Regions from separate parts of the Homo sapiens genome. Here regions 2, 3, 4 and 5 are each linked to region 1. Evidence: promoter capture Hi-C in human tissues and cell types (Jung and others, 2019). All regions are on one chromosome and are shown on one strand. Each heading gives the region's core, a stretch centred on a gene start or on the middle of the fragment in contact. The rest is flanking DNA. Distances are from core to core; before and after follow the strand shown.

Evidence for each region. The method cuts DNA at HindIII sites, captures the fragments that hold promoters and counts their contacts. A contact is called where the count stands out against the background at its distance.
Region 2: a contact is called between a fragment that was not itself captured here and the fragment with the promoter of SALL4 in region 1, in 1 of the 25 tissues and cell types used here (mesenchymal stem cells).
Region 3: a fragment that was not itself captured here is called in contact with the fragment with the promoter of SALL4 in region 1 in 1 of the 25 tissues and cell types used here (mesendoderm cells).
Region 4: a fragment that was not itself captured here is called in contact with the fragment with the promoter of SALL4 in region 1 in 1 of the 25 tissues and cell types used here (H1 embryonic stem cells).
Region 5: a fragment that was not itself captured here is called in contact with the fragment with the promoter of SALL4 in region 1 in 1 of the 25 tissues and cell types used here (hippocampus).

What each region holds. Positions count from the first base shown.
Region 1 is chr20:51,801,261-51,803,785 of GRCh38, forward strand. It overlaps SALL4 (spalt like transcription factor 4), which reads right to left and starts at 1,261. Exons shown (of 4, transcript NM_020436.5): 1 at 1,019-1,261. The coding sequence starts at 1,148. RefSeq lists enhancers at 1-322, 966-1,607. The HindIII fragment of the contact is 8,319 bases long and covers 1-2,525 here.
Region 2 is chr20:52,023,259-52,025,783 of GRCh38, forward strand. No RefSeq gene overlaps it. Among named protein-coding and RNA genes, the nearest start is that of LINC01429, 160 kb to the left of the region's middle. The HindIII fragment of the contact is 9,290 bases long and covers 1-2,525 here.
Region 3 is chr20:52,001,827-52,004,351 of GRCh38, forward strand. No RefSeq gene overlaps it. Among named protein-coding and RNA genes, the nearest start is that of LINC01429, 140 kb to the left of the region's middle. The HindIII fragment of the contact is 5,550 bases long and covers 1-2,525 here.
Region 4 is chr20:51,983,239-51,985,763 of GRCh38, forward strand. No RefSeq gene overlaps it. Among named protein-coding and RNA genes, the nearest start is that of LINC01429, 120 kb to the left of the region's middle. The HindIII fragment of the contact is 7,832 bases long and covers 1-2,525 here.
Region 5 is chr20:51,667,989-51,670,513 of GRCh38, forward strand. ATP9A (ATPase phospholipid transporting 9A (putative)) reads right to left here. Exons shown (of 28, transcript NM_006045.3): 13 at 2,009-2,121. Among named protein-coding and RNA genes, the nearest start is that of ATP9A, 99 kb to the right of the region's middle. The HindIII fragment of the contact is 5,724 bases long and covers 1-2,525 here.

The DNA of each region.
Region 1 (2,525 bases), core at 11-2,510:
TCCTGGCGCGGCTGGGGTCCCGAACTCCCCTCGATCTGGGAAACGCTGGCCGCGGAAGCGTGGGCCAGGTCAGCCGCGGGAGTTCGCTCTGGCCCCCCACCTCTCCCCTTTCACACCCAAGCGCAAATGTGGAAAGCCGAGCGCTCCAGAAAAGCCACGCAAAACGGGAGGCCGGTGCACCCCAGTGGGGCTGCCGCGCGCCCGCCACCCCGGCCACTGGGGGCTCGCACCCTCGGGCTTGCCGCGGTTATTTTTAGGAAGTCGGAAATCAAAGATGGCTGGAGGTCAGGCCCCGAAAGGTTAGGGCGAAGATCGGCAGGCGGCGCAGCCCGGGCAGAAAAGGCGAAATCCAGAAAAGAAAAAAATTTTAAAGGGAAACATTGAGCCCTCCTCCCCCACCTCTCTGGGCCCTCCAATCCCCTGCGCAGCGCGGGTGGCCCGCACCCCAGCTCCTGAGGGTGGGGAGAGGTCGCGCCCCCTCCCCCCACTTGGCCCGGGAGGGGCGCGTGCAACAGATCGTCCTCCTCCGGGGGGTCTTCCAGGGGTGCGCCCCTCCTCCAGCCTCCAAGAAAAGCCCCAAGGGGCTGGTGGAGAGGGTGGGGATCCCCCGGGGTTCTTTCTTTTGAGAGCGACGCGAGGGAGGGGGACCTAAGTTACAAGGGGGGGGGGTAACACCAGTGAGGGGAGTGGAACCAATTAAGTGAGGGGCAGAGGACAAGGAGAAGGGAACCTTTCGGGAGCGAGAACAGAGGAGCGAGTGGGGGTCAATTTTACAATTAGGGGAGAAAGCTGGGGGTGAAACTTACACAAGAGGGGAGAAGAGGAAAAAAGTGTGAAATGTGCAAAAGGCGGGGTGGTGGGGAGAGGAGGAGACCTCTCCTCCCGGGCACTGAGCCCCCAAATCTCGGCTCCTGAATTTGCGCTGGACGCCGCCCGCTCCCCGAAGCCTGCGCCCTCGAGGATCCCGCGTACGTCCGGGAAGCTCCCCTCCCCGGGCGGGCGCCCCAGCCCCACTCACCCAGCTCCCCCGCCGCGGGCGCCGCTGGGGCCGCATCTGCAAACTCCGGGGTCTGCTGCTGCGGCTGCTGCTCGCCCTGGTCCTCCTCCGAGTTGATGTGCTGGGGTTTCGCCTGCTTGCGCCTCGACATGGTGCGAGCATCGGGGCGCCGGGAGAGCCGCAGTTATTTGCCCTCTCCGCCACAAATTCCTGGAGTTGGGAAATTTACCCCCCTTCGGCCGGAACGCGCATGTCCCAGTAATTATTATTATCAATAATGCATTGCGATTTATCATGAGCCCTGACAGCTGATTGGCCTGGGTCCAAGACCTCAGAGATCATTTAAATAAGCCCTCATTGATCAGGGAGGGGTGAGGCATTCTGGGCTTTGTAGTCCGGGCCTACTTGTGACAAAGGCGTGTTCATCAGGGGAGCGCAGCTAATTAGCATCCGGGCTCAGATTGGCTGGGGCGGGGACGAAATCAGAGGGGGACCCATCCTTGCTCCAGCTATCTCAGTCCTTGGAGAGGAAAAGAAAATGGGGAGAAATGCGTACTCATTAAAAAGTAGGAGCTTACGTAGAAGTTTTGGAACGGCTTTATTTGGTAGTTACTTGCTCCAAAGATTACTTGGTAAGGTTGATGTCCACCAGCCGAGAAGGGAGATCTCTTCACAGTGGAATATTTTGGCTCAGTTTTCACATCTACACGCACACACATTCCCCCAAACCTGAGATGTGACCCGTGTCCCCTCCCATCTTTTTGATTAAAAATGTTTAAGTTGAGTCTCGAGATAACTGAAGAATGATGAATGGTGGTGTTTTCAGCCCTCCCACCCATCTCAACTCTTAAAGTGAGCTCGGAACTTCCAAAATTTCAGATACCCCACCACCACCATGACTTACCTCCTTTAAAAGCTGATTAATAGCCTCCAGGATTCCTGTTCACAAAGACTGGTTTGTGGTTACAATGCAAACCTTGATTTTTTTTTAACTTCAAAATGACTGGCTACTAAATATAGAAATGGCAAATGATAAGCAAGCATAGTCAGAGATAATATCAAAACAGCAAGCAATTGCATTTTTTTCCCCAGGAGCCATAAATGCCTGATAACATCATATTTTATTACTGAGACAATGCTCTTGCATCTCCCATGGAATGGCAATGGGGCACTGTCACAGTATCTGGTTGTTACTAATCACTATTGGAATTTTTTTGTGCAATACACACATTATTACAGAAAAGGTGTATCGTTCAAAGTGATTGTATCATTGACACATGATGCCTGGAATTTTTTAAAGTGGGGCTTGTGTGTGTGTATATGATATATTACATGTATACACATTTATACCGTAAATTCATGTATACTTAATTTGGCTAACTGCTTTACACAATGTACATGCTCAATAAATGTTAAATGAATGATGAAATCATCAACCTGCTAAGTCTTTGATTGGTCTTTCCATAACTGCTCTGGGCATGCGTCTTTGTTTGGCATTTACTTCATTGTAAGGGACTGTGCAGATATA
Region 2 (2,525 bases), core at 14-2,513, 220 kb after region 1:
GCTGGGATTACAGGCGTGCACCTCCACACCCAGCTAATTTTTGTATTTTTAGTAGAGACTGGGTTTCACCATGTTGGCTATGCTGGTCTCAAACTCCTGACCTCGTGATCCACCCGCCTCGGCCTCCCAAAGTGCTGGGATTACAGGCGTGAGCCACTGTAAAGGATTGTTGTGAAAAGTAAGATTATGCATATGCTTGATAAATGTGAACTGTTATTATTATCTTCATGTCTCAGTTTCATCACCTCTAAAATGGGTCCATGGACGGATTAAATAAGGTCATCTGGGTAAAGTACTTGGCTCATACATGTTACTTGGGATCAGTATTATTCCCCGGATGTACAAAATACTTGTCATTCATTATAACAGTCACGACTGTGCCCAGGGGTGAGCAAAAGCCTCAGTGTCCTCAAGGGTCCCAGGATCAGCCACAGAATTTGCAGGGCATGGTGCAAATGAAAACATAGGGCCTCTTGTTAAAAATGTTATTAAGAATTTCAAGATGGCCACAGCAGAGCATTAAGCCAAGCTAGAACCTGTCTGAGCTCGGGGCCCTGTGTAACTGCAAGGGTTGCATGTCCCAGAAGTTGGCCCTGTCCTCTCTCAAGGTCACCTGGGCAGAAAGCTGTTGTTTGGGTCTTGAAGGATGAGTTTTGTAAAGGCCCCTTGCCCTGCCCCTTCACACATGTGCATTCTCATTCTTCTAACTAATTCCAGGACCTTGGAATTCCATCTGACCCCTAAGGGCTGCTCCTAATGCAATCCGGGGGAACACTAGATTCAGAGTCAGCCCCCAAATCAAAGGCCAGCACAAAACCCTGGATAAATTACAGCTGTTATAAAGAAGCCACCTCTTCACCCTTGTTCTCATTTTCCTTGCATTTATAGTCACAACTCAATGAAGCCATCAACATTTGCTATTCATAAACTTGTTGGATAAGCAAGGCTGATGGGCTCACAGTGATAACTAGAGGCACTAAAGAAAGTGACAAGCTTCAAATTGGAGGCCAAGCCATACTTCTAAATGTACAGCATATTTTAAAAAAGAATGTGTGATGGTTTATATTGATGTGGCTCAGAATAACATATTTCTATAAGAAACTGTTAAATGAATTTGCAAAAAGGCTAAGTTGGCTTATGTGCTATATGTATGCGTAGACAAACATCATGGAAATACTAGAGTTTTCTCTGTTGTAAATGCTGCTGCTGTCCAACATGAATCGGCACCATGTCCTCCTTGCATCAGCTGGCATCCCTGTAGCATTGATCACATACATGCCAGGTCTCCTGCTGGCATCTTTAAAGGACTATCTCATTTAGTTTTCTCAACCCCTGTATGGCTAGTAAGCTACCCAAGTTCACTTAAAAAGTGGGTGAGCTAGGTTTACAACCCACCTGTCTGACCACAAAGCCTATGTTCTAAGCCACTATCCAAAATAGTCACCCAGGGCCAGGTGCAGTGGTTCACACCTGTGATACCAGCACTTTGAGAGGCCAAGGCTGAAAGATTGCTTGAGCCTAGGAGTTCAAGACCAGCCTGGACAACATAGTGAGATCTCATTTCTACCAAAAAATTTAAAAATTAGCTGGGTGTGGTGGTGTGTGCCTGTAGTCTCAGCTACTTGGGAGGCTGAGGTGGGAGGATCACTTGAGTCTGGGAGGTCAAGGCTGCAGTGAGCTGTGGTCGTGCCACTGCACTCCAGCCTGGGCAACAGAGTGAGACTTTGTCTCAAAAAAAAAAAAAAAAAAAATTACCCTGTCATATCGAGTGACAAAAAGAGATCAAGATACCAGAAAAATAATACAAATGTATTTAATAAAAACTGTACTAAGACCTTTACATCTCCTATTGGTGTTGTGAAGAAGGTCTGATTATTTATTTATTTTTTTGAGACGGAGTTTTGCTTTTGTTGCCCAGGCTGGAGTGCAATGGTGTGATTTCGGCTCATGGCAAACTCTGCCTCCTGGCAAACTCTGCCTCCCAGGTTCAAGTGATTCTTCTGTCTCAGCCTCTCCAGTAGCTGGGATTACAGGTATGTGCCACCACGCCCGGCTAATTTTGTATTTTTAGTAGAGATGGGGTTTCTCCATGTTGGTCAGGCTAGTCTTGAACTCCCGACTTCAGGTGATCCACCTGCCTTTGCCTCCCAAAGTGCTGGGACTACAGGCCTAAGCCACTGCGCCTGGCTAGGTCCGATTATTATTATCCCGATACGGCAGATGAGCAAACTAAGGCTTGGGGAGGTTGAACAACAAAGGCTGTGCAGCTAGTGATGGATTTAGAGACAGCCTGTAGAAGCAGTTAGAGCTTCAGAAAACAAACAAGAGACCTTTTTTTTTTTTTTGAGATGGAGTCTCACTCTGTCGCCCAGGCTGGAGTGCAGTGGCATGATCTCAGCTCACTGCAAGCTCCGCCTCCTGGGTTCATGCCATTCTCCTGCCTCAGCCTCCCAAGTAGCTGGGACTATAGGCGCCCGCCACCACACCCGGCTAATTTTTTGTATTTTTAGTTGAGACGGGGTCTC
Region 3 (2,525 bases), core at 9-2,508, 200 kb after region 1:
GTCTTTGTCCAATATTAATTTCTTAGTTTGGACAAATGTACCCTTGGTAGGCAAGATGTTACTGTTAGGGGAAGTGAGGTGACAGGAGCTCTCTGTATTAACTTTGCAACTTTTCTATACTTCTAACAATTATTCCAGCTAAAAAGTATATTTTAAATGAGTGTTGAAGGCTATTTTTCAGATCTGTAAACACACTCCCAATGCGGTTAGGCAAACATGGGAAACACCTGGCCATGGCCACATTATGGTAAAAAGAAAAAAAAGATCTCTGTGATCCTTCTGCTGGACAAAAGGGTATATTTAGCCTCAGATTTTTTGCGGTGACCTTTGCATTCTGAAATGAATTAGAGGTTTACGTGTCAGAATGTAAAGAGCAGGAAACCAGGAAGTTGATGGGGAACGACTTTCCTGTTGTATTTCACTTGTTTACATACAGCAGCATCACCGAGAGCAGAGATTTTGCTAGATTATGTTGACATCACATATCCCTGATCCACCACTGGGGGCTGAAAGCAGCATGCACCACCCCCAGCCAAACTGCTGGAAATTCCTGCATGAAATTTCAATCGCATGGTTTAGCTGTATTATTATTATTATTATTAGCTGGGTTATTATTGTTATTATTAGCCGTATTATTATTATCATTATTTTAGCTGAGTTATCTTAATTTGCTCTTTTTCTCTGGCTATTTTGATCTGAAATGAATTACTTATCTTTTCTCTTGTGGGCAGTAAAGAAGTTCTTTTTGTCTCAAATACAATCTAAGATAAATTTTGGAAAGCAAACCATGCTCCTTGACAAACAACTTCGTGTTCACCTCTCTTCATGGTAAACATTGGAAATGTGAACATCTCTGTTTGTCTCTCGTTTGTTCTTTAACAAATGTAACATTTTCAATACAGATAACAAAAAGTCCAATTTCAGAGAATTCTGCCTATCTAGCTCACCCCTCTATACCAGGATCATCAGCATCAGACACTCATATTTGTAGGATAGACAAATGAAGAGGAAGAAAATGTCATATAATATTCTTGCATTTAAGATCTTTAGGAAGGATAAAAGCATATTTCTCTGCAGGAATGTTAAAGTAGCATATTTGACAATGTGATTACAGGAGAGTATGTGTTGCCTTTAATATTCGTTTTTTAGGAATAGTCTTTATTCTAAGCCATTTCCATGTTAATTTGAGGAAGAGGTTATTTTCCACCTTATCACTCAAATCTGACGATGTTTGGCTTCTCAGAAATATCAAAATGCTTACATTTTGTTTTCATTCGTGAAACAAATGTATGGGTTTTGGTTGGGCTTGGACTCAAATGGCATTTTAAAACAGGAGCATATGTTTCGGGAGCAATTAGCGATTGTTTAATATAACGACCCTGCAGGCTGGAAAGGCTGCAGGTCAGAATTGTTAACAGGCAAAGCAATGAAAAATAGTAAAGCATTAGCAGATAGCGTAAATAGTCAAATTTGACCTCCAAAGGTCAAGAGAGAACTAAATAATTTGGTCGCAGCACTGACTGATTTAAATCAATGCAATCCCAATTTCCTTTTTTGCCGGTTTGCCTTTGGTATTCCACGGTCTAGTACTCGCCAGGAGTCAGGAGAGAGAACAGGGTAGGGTCTACTCAGTGATATAATTTTACTAAATGTGGGTGGTTTCGAGAGAAAAAATAGCCAAAAGTATTTCAAGGACCAAATGAAATTATTTAAACAGAACGCCATTGTGTCTGTCCTCTTAACTACTTGGTTTTGTTTCTCTAAGGATGATTTATGATGGTAACACCGATACAAATACATAATTAACCATGGGAGCATTTTGCATCTCAGGTTTCCCACATTTTTTCTCATTTGTAGGCTTCTTAGATTTAAAATTATACCTTTACCCTATGAAACTGAAAAATCAGCAAAATTCGTAAATTGCTAGACCAAATAAGTTTTTATCTTTTTTAAAGTGTGAAAAAATGATCCCCTGAATTCTTTTGGATTTCTACCTAATTTTTTTTTTTTAGTGGAATGATTCCCTCCCTCTTGACTGCTTCTGTCTTCTATTTTTTCATGTAGGACTCTTCTTCGTCATCCCTCACATAGATAATATGTGGCTTACTCAAATTTATTTTTAAGGTACTATATCCTGTTTTGATCAGGAAAAGTATATTTTAAAGAAAAAAAAATCTTTTGGTGATTACAAAATCACTTTAAGACCCAGGGGGAACTATGCCTCAGTGACAAAACAAATTTGCCACAAATCATTGTACAAAAGAACAGCAGGACCTAAGCCTAAACTCGGGGACCGCTCCCATTCATCTTTCATTTGTTTTGGAAACTCCACCCTCCTCCTGCCATGTTCAATATCTAATTGGCATTCTGACCCTTCAGATAACTCAACATCTGCTACTCTGATGCATCTTGGAAACTCTTTGTTCCCGTAAGGCGGAGTTCAAGGGGCTCTCTTCACTGATACACAAGATTCATGCATGCTATTGTGTACGCAGCTTCTGGTGCTGAATGGAGACAAAACTTTT
Region 4 (2,525 bases), core at 20-2,519, 180 kb after region 1:
TGGGGCTTGCTGTCTGTTCAACAAGGGAAATTAGTTAAGTGTGGAGAGGTGATAAAGATCTATTAGCACCAAACAGAGACTTTCTCCTTAATGTAATCCGAAAGATTGAAGATGAACCCCTGTAGATTTATTGTGTTTTTTTTTTTTTGAGACGGAGTCTTGCTCTGTTGCCCAGGCTGGAGTGCAGTGGTGCGATCTTGGCTCACTACAAGCTCAGCCTCCCGGGTTCACGCCATTCTCCTGCCTCAGCCTCCTGAGTAGCTGGGACTACAGGCGCCCACCAGCGTGCCCGTCTAATTTTTTGTATTTTTAGTAGAGACGGGGTTTCACCATGTTAGCCAGGATGGTCTTGATCTCCTGACCTTGTGATCCACCTGCCTCGGCCTCCCAAAGTGCTGGGATTACAGGTGTGAGCCACTGCGCCCAGCCTATTTATTGTTATTTTATTTATTTTTATTTTTTTGAGACAAGGTCTTGCTCTCCTGCCTCAGCCTCCCAAGAAACTGGGATTACAGGTGCGCACCACCATGCCCGGCTAATTTTTGTATTTTAATAGAGATGAGGTTTCACCATTTGCTGAGACTGGTCTCAAACTCCTGGACTCAACCGATCCTCCTACCTCAGCCTCCCAAAGTGCTGGGATTACAGGCATGAGCAACCACACCAGGCCTTATAGCATTATTTAATGCCACATCCATGCACCATCTAAATTATCTAGCTTATGGACAATAATAATCTTCAGACCACACCTTGCAGCCATTCCTCACTTTGGGGAAACTGGCACTGCCAGAGTTTCTCAAAGCATTTTCCATAGTGATTTGATAGGCATTAAACTGATCTCCTAATCCAAGACTTTTTTCAATCCTTATGCACTGAATGAAGAACAGTTTCACTTTTTTAGGACCAAAGATTGTTTACCAATAACTTACCTAATATTAAAATATGGTTTTAATGCCCATTTGCTTTAGGGCAAATAGGAGGGTTATAAAACCTCACTGGATGGATCCAAGAGGAGAAAAAAAAAGATTGGCTTTAAGGGAAAAACAAGAATGCCTAATTAGCTTTTTGTTTTGTTTGGGTGACATCACATGTATCATTAGGCTTAGAAAGTTCATTTGCCACCTTATTTGTATGAGTTTTTGAGTTCCTTCCATATCTATTTTCCTGTATTGGGGCTTTTTTTTTTTTTTTTTTTTTTTTTTGAGACGGAGTCTCACTCTGTGGCCCAGGTTGGAGTGCAGTGGCATGATCTCGGCTCACTGCAACCTCTGCCTTCAGGTTCAAGCGATTCTCCTGCCTCAGCCTCCCAAGTAGCTGGGACTACAGGTGCGTGCCACTATGCCCAGCTAATTTTTGTATTTTTTAGTAGAGACAGGTTTCACCATATTGGACAGTCTGGTCTTGAACTCCTGAACTCGTGATCTGCCCGCCTCGGCCTCCCAAAGTGCTGGGATTACAGGTGTAGGCCACCGCGCCCGGCCGCGTTGGGGCTTTTAGAATTGAATTTACTGTCTGTGAGAGTTCTCTTCTATTTCAATTTTAGGGCTAAAGAATGTGGTTTTTTTTCCCTCCAGGCAAATGAGATTAAATAAATATTTAAATTTTGTGTGAAGTTTATTTAACATTTTCCACTCTTTGCTATTGCTTAAGTGCAAAGTTTTGTCTTTTTTTAAACATTATAATTGCTACTTAGAATTCTAAGCTGTAATTTTGCTGTTATGTAAATTACACAACTTCAGTAGTAAAACCAAGCAAATAGTATTTATTCCTTCCTCTGCCTTGGAAACTGATTCCTTCTGAAAATAATTGCAGAAACTAATGAAAGCAAGATCCAGTTCCTGCCTAGATTTGGCTGGTCTGATTTTAAGCCACTCCCCACAGGAAATAACAGATAAAATGATGCAATACTAGCTAGCATTCCTGGCTGTTTCTGACAATCCAGGAGCTATGTGACTAATATATCAAGTGAAAAAAATATTTCCTTGATTAAAGTCATAATAACATATTATGTGTAATAACACAGGGAGTATAGATGACTCAGATTCCAGGAATAATAGAAATTGGTGGCTCAGCAACTTAAAGCAGCTAGAAAGGATTGTTATGCCACATGGGGGTTGGAGAAGGGCTTGCCAATTGCACACTGAAGTTAAACAAAAGCCTAACTTAATTTTTATTCCTGGTTAAAAAAAAGTCTATTATGTACATCCAGCCAAAAAACCAGTGCCTTAAACAAGATAAATGCGTATTTTCTCTCAATTAAACACTACATAGGTAGTCTAAGGCTTCAATGACTCTCCTTGGTCCCAAGCTGCTTCTTTTTTAATTTTTTTGAGATGGAGTCTCGCTCTGTCGCCCAGGCTGGAGGGCAGTGGCGCGATCTCGGCTCCCTGCAAGCTCCGCCTCCCGGGTTCACGCCATTCTCCTGCCTCAGCTTCTGGAGTAGCTGGGACGACAGGCGCCCACCATAACGCCCGGCTAATTTTTTGTACTTTTTAGTAGAGACGGGGTTTCGCCATGTTAGGCAG
Region 5 (2,525 bases), core at 15-2,514, 130 kb before region 1:
AGCCCAGAAGTTTGAGGCTGCAGTGAGCTGTGATTGCACCACTGCACTCCAGCCTGGGTGACAGAGTGAGACCCTGTTACAAAAGAAGGAAGGGAGGTGGGGGGGGGGGGGGGCGGAAGGGCTGGGAGTGGGCGAGGGGCTGGGGGAGGGGAGGGAGGGTAAGGAAAGGAAGGGAAGAAAGGGAGAAGGAAAAAAAAAAAAAAGGCCGAAGGGGTGATCTAGTGATCGGGTGGGAGCAGGTACTGGAGAAGGGGCAGTGGCTGTCAGCTGGGGTGACGAGGGTACCAGGATGGAGGGCGTGGTGTGCACTAAGACAAGCAGCCCTGGGAGAGAATAGGTTTAGGAGATGAGGGAAGAAAGTCAGGAGGGGTCCCAGGTACAGCATCCTTATGAGCCACATGCAGCAATGCCAAACATTCGGCTACGTTATAATCCAAAGCTCCAGGTCAGGCCTAGAGATGGAGATGGAGACAGAGCCATCAGCATCCACAGAGCGATGGAAGCAGGGTGAGGGGCCATCCGGGGAACAACATAACAGAGTCCAGCACCGAGCCCCAGAGACACCAACCCCAAATCACCACACAGAGGAAGACGGTCAAAGAGACAGAAAGGAAACGGGGGCTGTGCGGCTCATCCTCCCTGTCCAGGGAAGTTCCTCGTGATTTCTTAATAGTGCTAAAGTACATCTTTGAAAAAGGTCCATGGATCCATTTGGAGACCAGCCATGACGCCTCCCCATGGAGCCTGGAACAGCAACAAGGGCTTTGTTGCTGGTTGTAGATGATGACAAGAACTGTGTCAAGTCAGCTGTTCTAACTTAACATCCACTCCCACTGTCACACTGTCCCCTGCTCTGCCATTTTCAGGAGACAGCCTGGAAATCCAGCCCACTGACAAATGTTCCAGAAAATTAAATGTCAGTTATGACCGTATCAAGAAGTATTCAGGGATTCTGCCTTTAACCTGTATACAGAGATAATTCATTCATATTTCTTACTGGTCTTCTGACTATGGGAATGTTCTCTATTTCGACGAATTTAAGCAAAATATGACCTCCTTATTCTCTTGTTATCTCCAAACAAGTGCTGCAACATGGAGCTGGTCTAACGCGGTCTGGCTCAGCCTTGGATGTGCCTCAGAATTAGCAAGGGGTGTGTTTGTCTTACTTTTAAAACCCAAAGCCACGCCCTGCCCTAAGTCTTAATGAGTAAGAATCTCCAGGGTATCAAGCCCAAATAAATGTCTCGTTTTTGTTCTGTGTTGTTTTGAAACTCCACCAGCAATTCTGACACACAGCCAAGATGGGGACCCACCGGTCTAACACTTTAGGAATATTAGGATATTTGCCAGTAATACTTTCTCTGAAAAGTGACTGGTTTTGGGAAACTTGGTAGGAAAAATAAAGGTAGGAACAGATAAACTGCAAGTTATCTCTGATGAACTAATTTCTTCCTCGTGATTGTTGAGTTGAATGTAGATGAGAAACTAAAGGTAATCAGTAACGTCATGATTATTTCACAAGCAGACCATTTGTTATTGGTGCTCCGGGTCATAGCCAGGGAAAGGGAAAACATCAACGTGGTCGTAAACTTGAAGTATAATCAACCAGCAGGTTCCTTCTGGTTCTATTTATTGGGCATATAATTTTCTCACAGGTTTTTCCTAATGTCCATCAGCACTTCAGCAGAGCAGATTAGCCCTGAAGATAGGGAAGATGGGGAAGGACCCCAAATGCAATTTTATTCAAAGTGTAAAGGAAGTGTGGGTGTCATGGGTATAGAAGGGAGGTATTGGGGAGTGACTGCTGATGGGTAGAGGGCTTCTTTTTGGGGTAAACATAAAATCGATTGCAGTGACAGTTGCTCAACTCTGAATATGCTTAAAAAAAAACAATGAATTGTACTCTTGAAATGGGTGAATTGTACGGTATTGTGAATTACATCTCAATATAGCTGTTAAAAAAAAAAAGTCAAAGAATTGTTTTGGGTGTTGAAATGGAAGGCTTTACCTGGGTGTAAATGCTGAAAATGTGGCTTTGTACTTCGTCCATTGAGTCGAGGCCGTAGGCTACTGTTCCGAGATGGAGCCGTTTGAAAATCATCTCGTTCTGGGTAAGAGTGCCTAAAACACAAGACAAATGAGTGGCCGGCCTGTCTCTCAGGATGTTTGTTATTATTAACAGTAATGACAGCTGCCATCTTTGGAGAGTTTGCCCTATGTCACACACTGCAGTCAGTACTGTCCCTGCTGGGGAAGACACCTGCAGCATTTTGCCTGCCTAGAATCCCATTCCCCTTTTGAAAATGGCTTCCTAGCTTTCCCAGGGGAAATTAACCACACCATGCCCATTACCTAAGGTGGCCCAAGAGGACTGTCAATCAGGGGCCTGGCCCATTCCGTTGGCCAAGAGGGTGACAAATGACATACACTAGAGCAATCAGATTCTATCTCGAAGGATTCTGACCCTTGAGTAGAAAGATACATCCCTAATGGCAGAGCCCTACAGAGACCACCTGGAGGGTCCT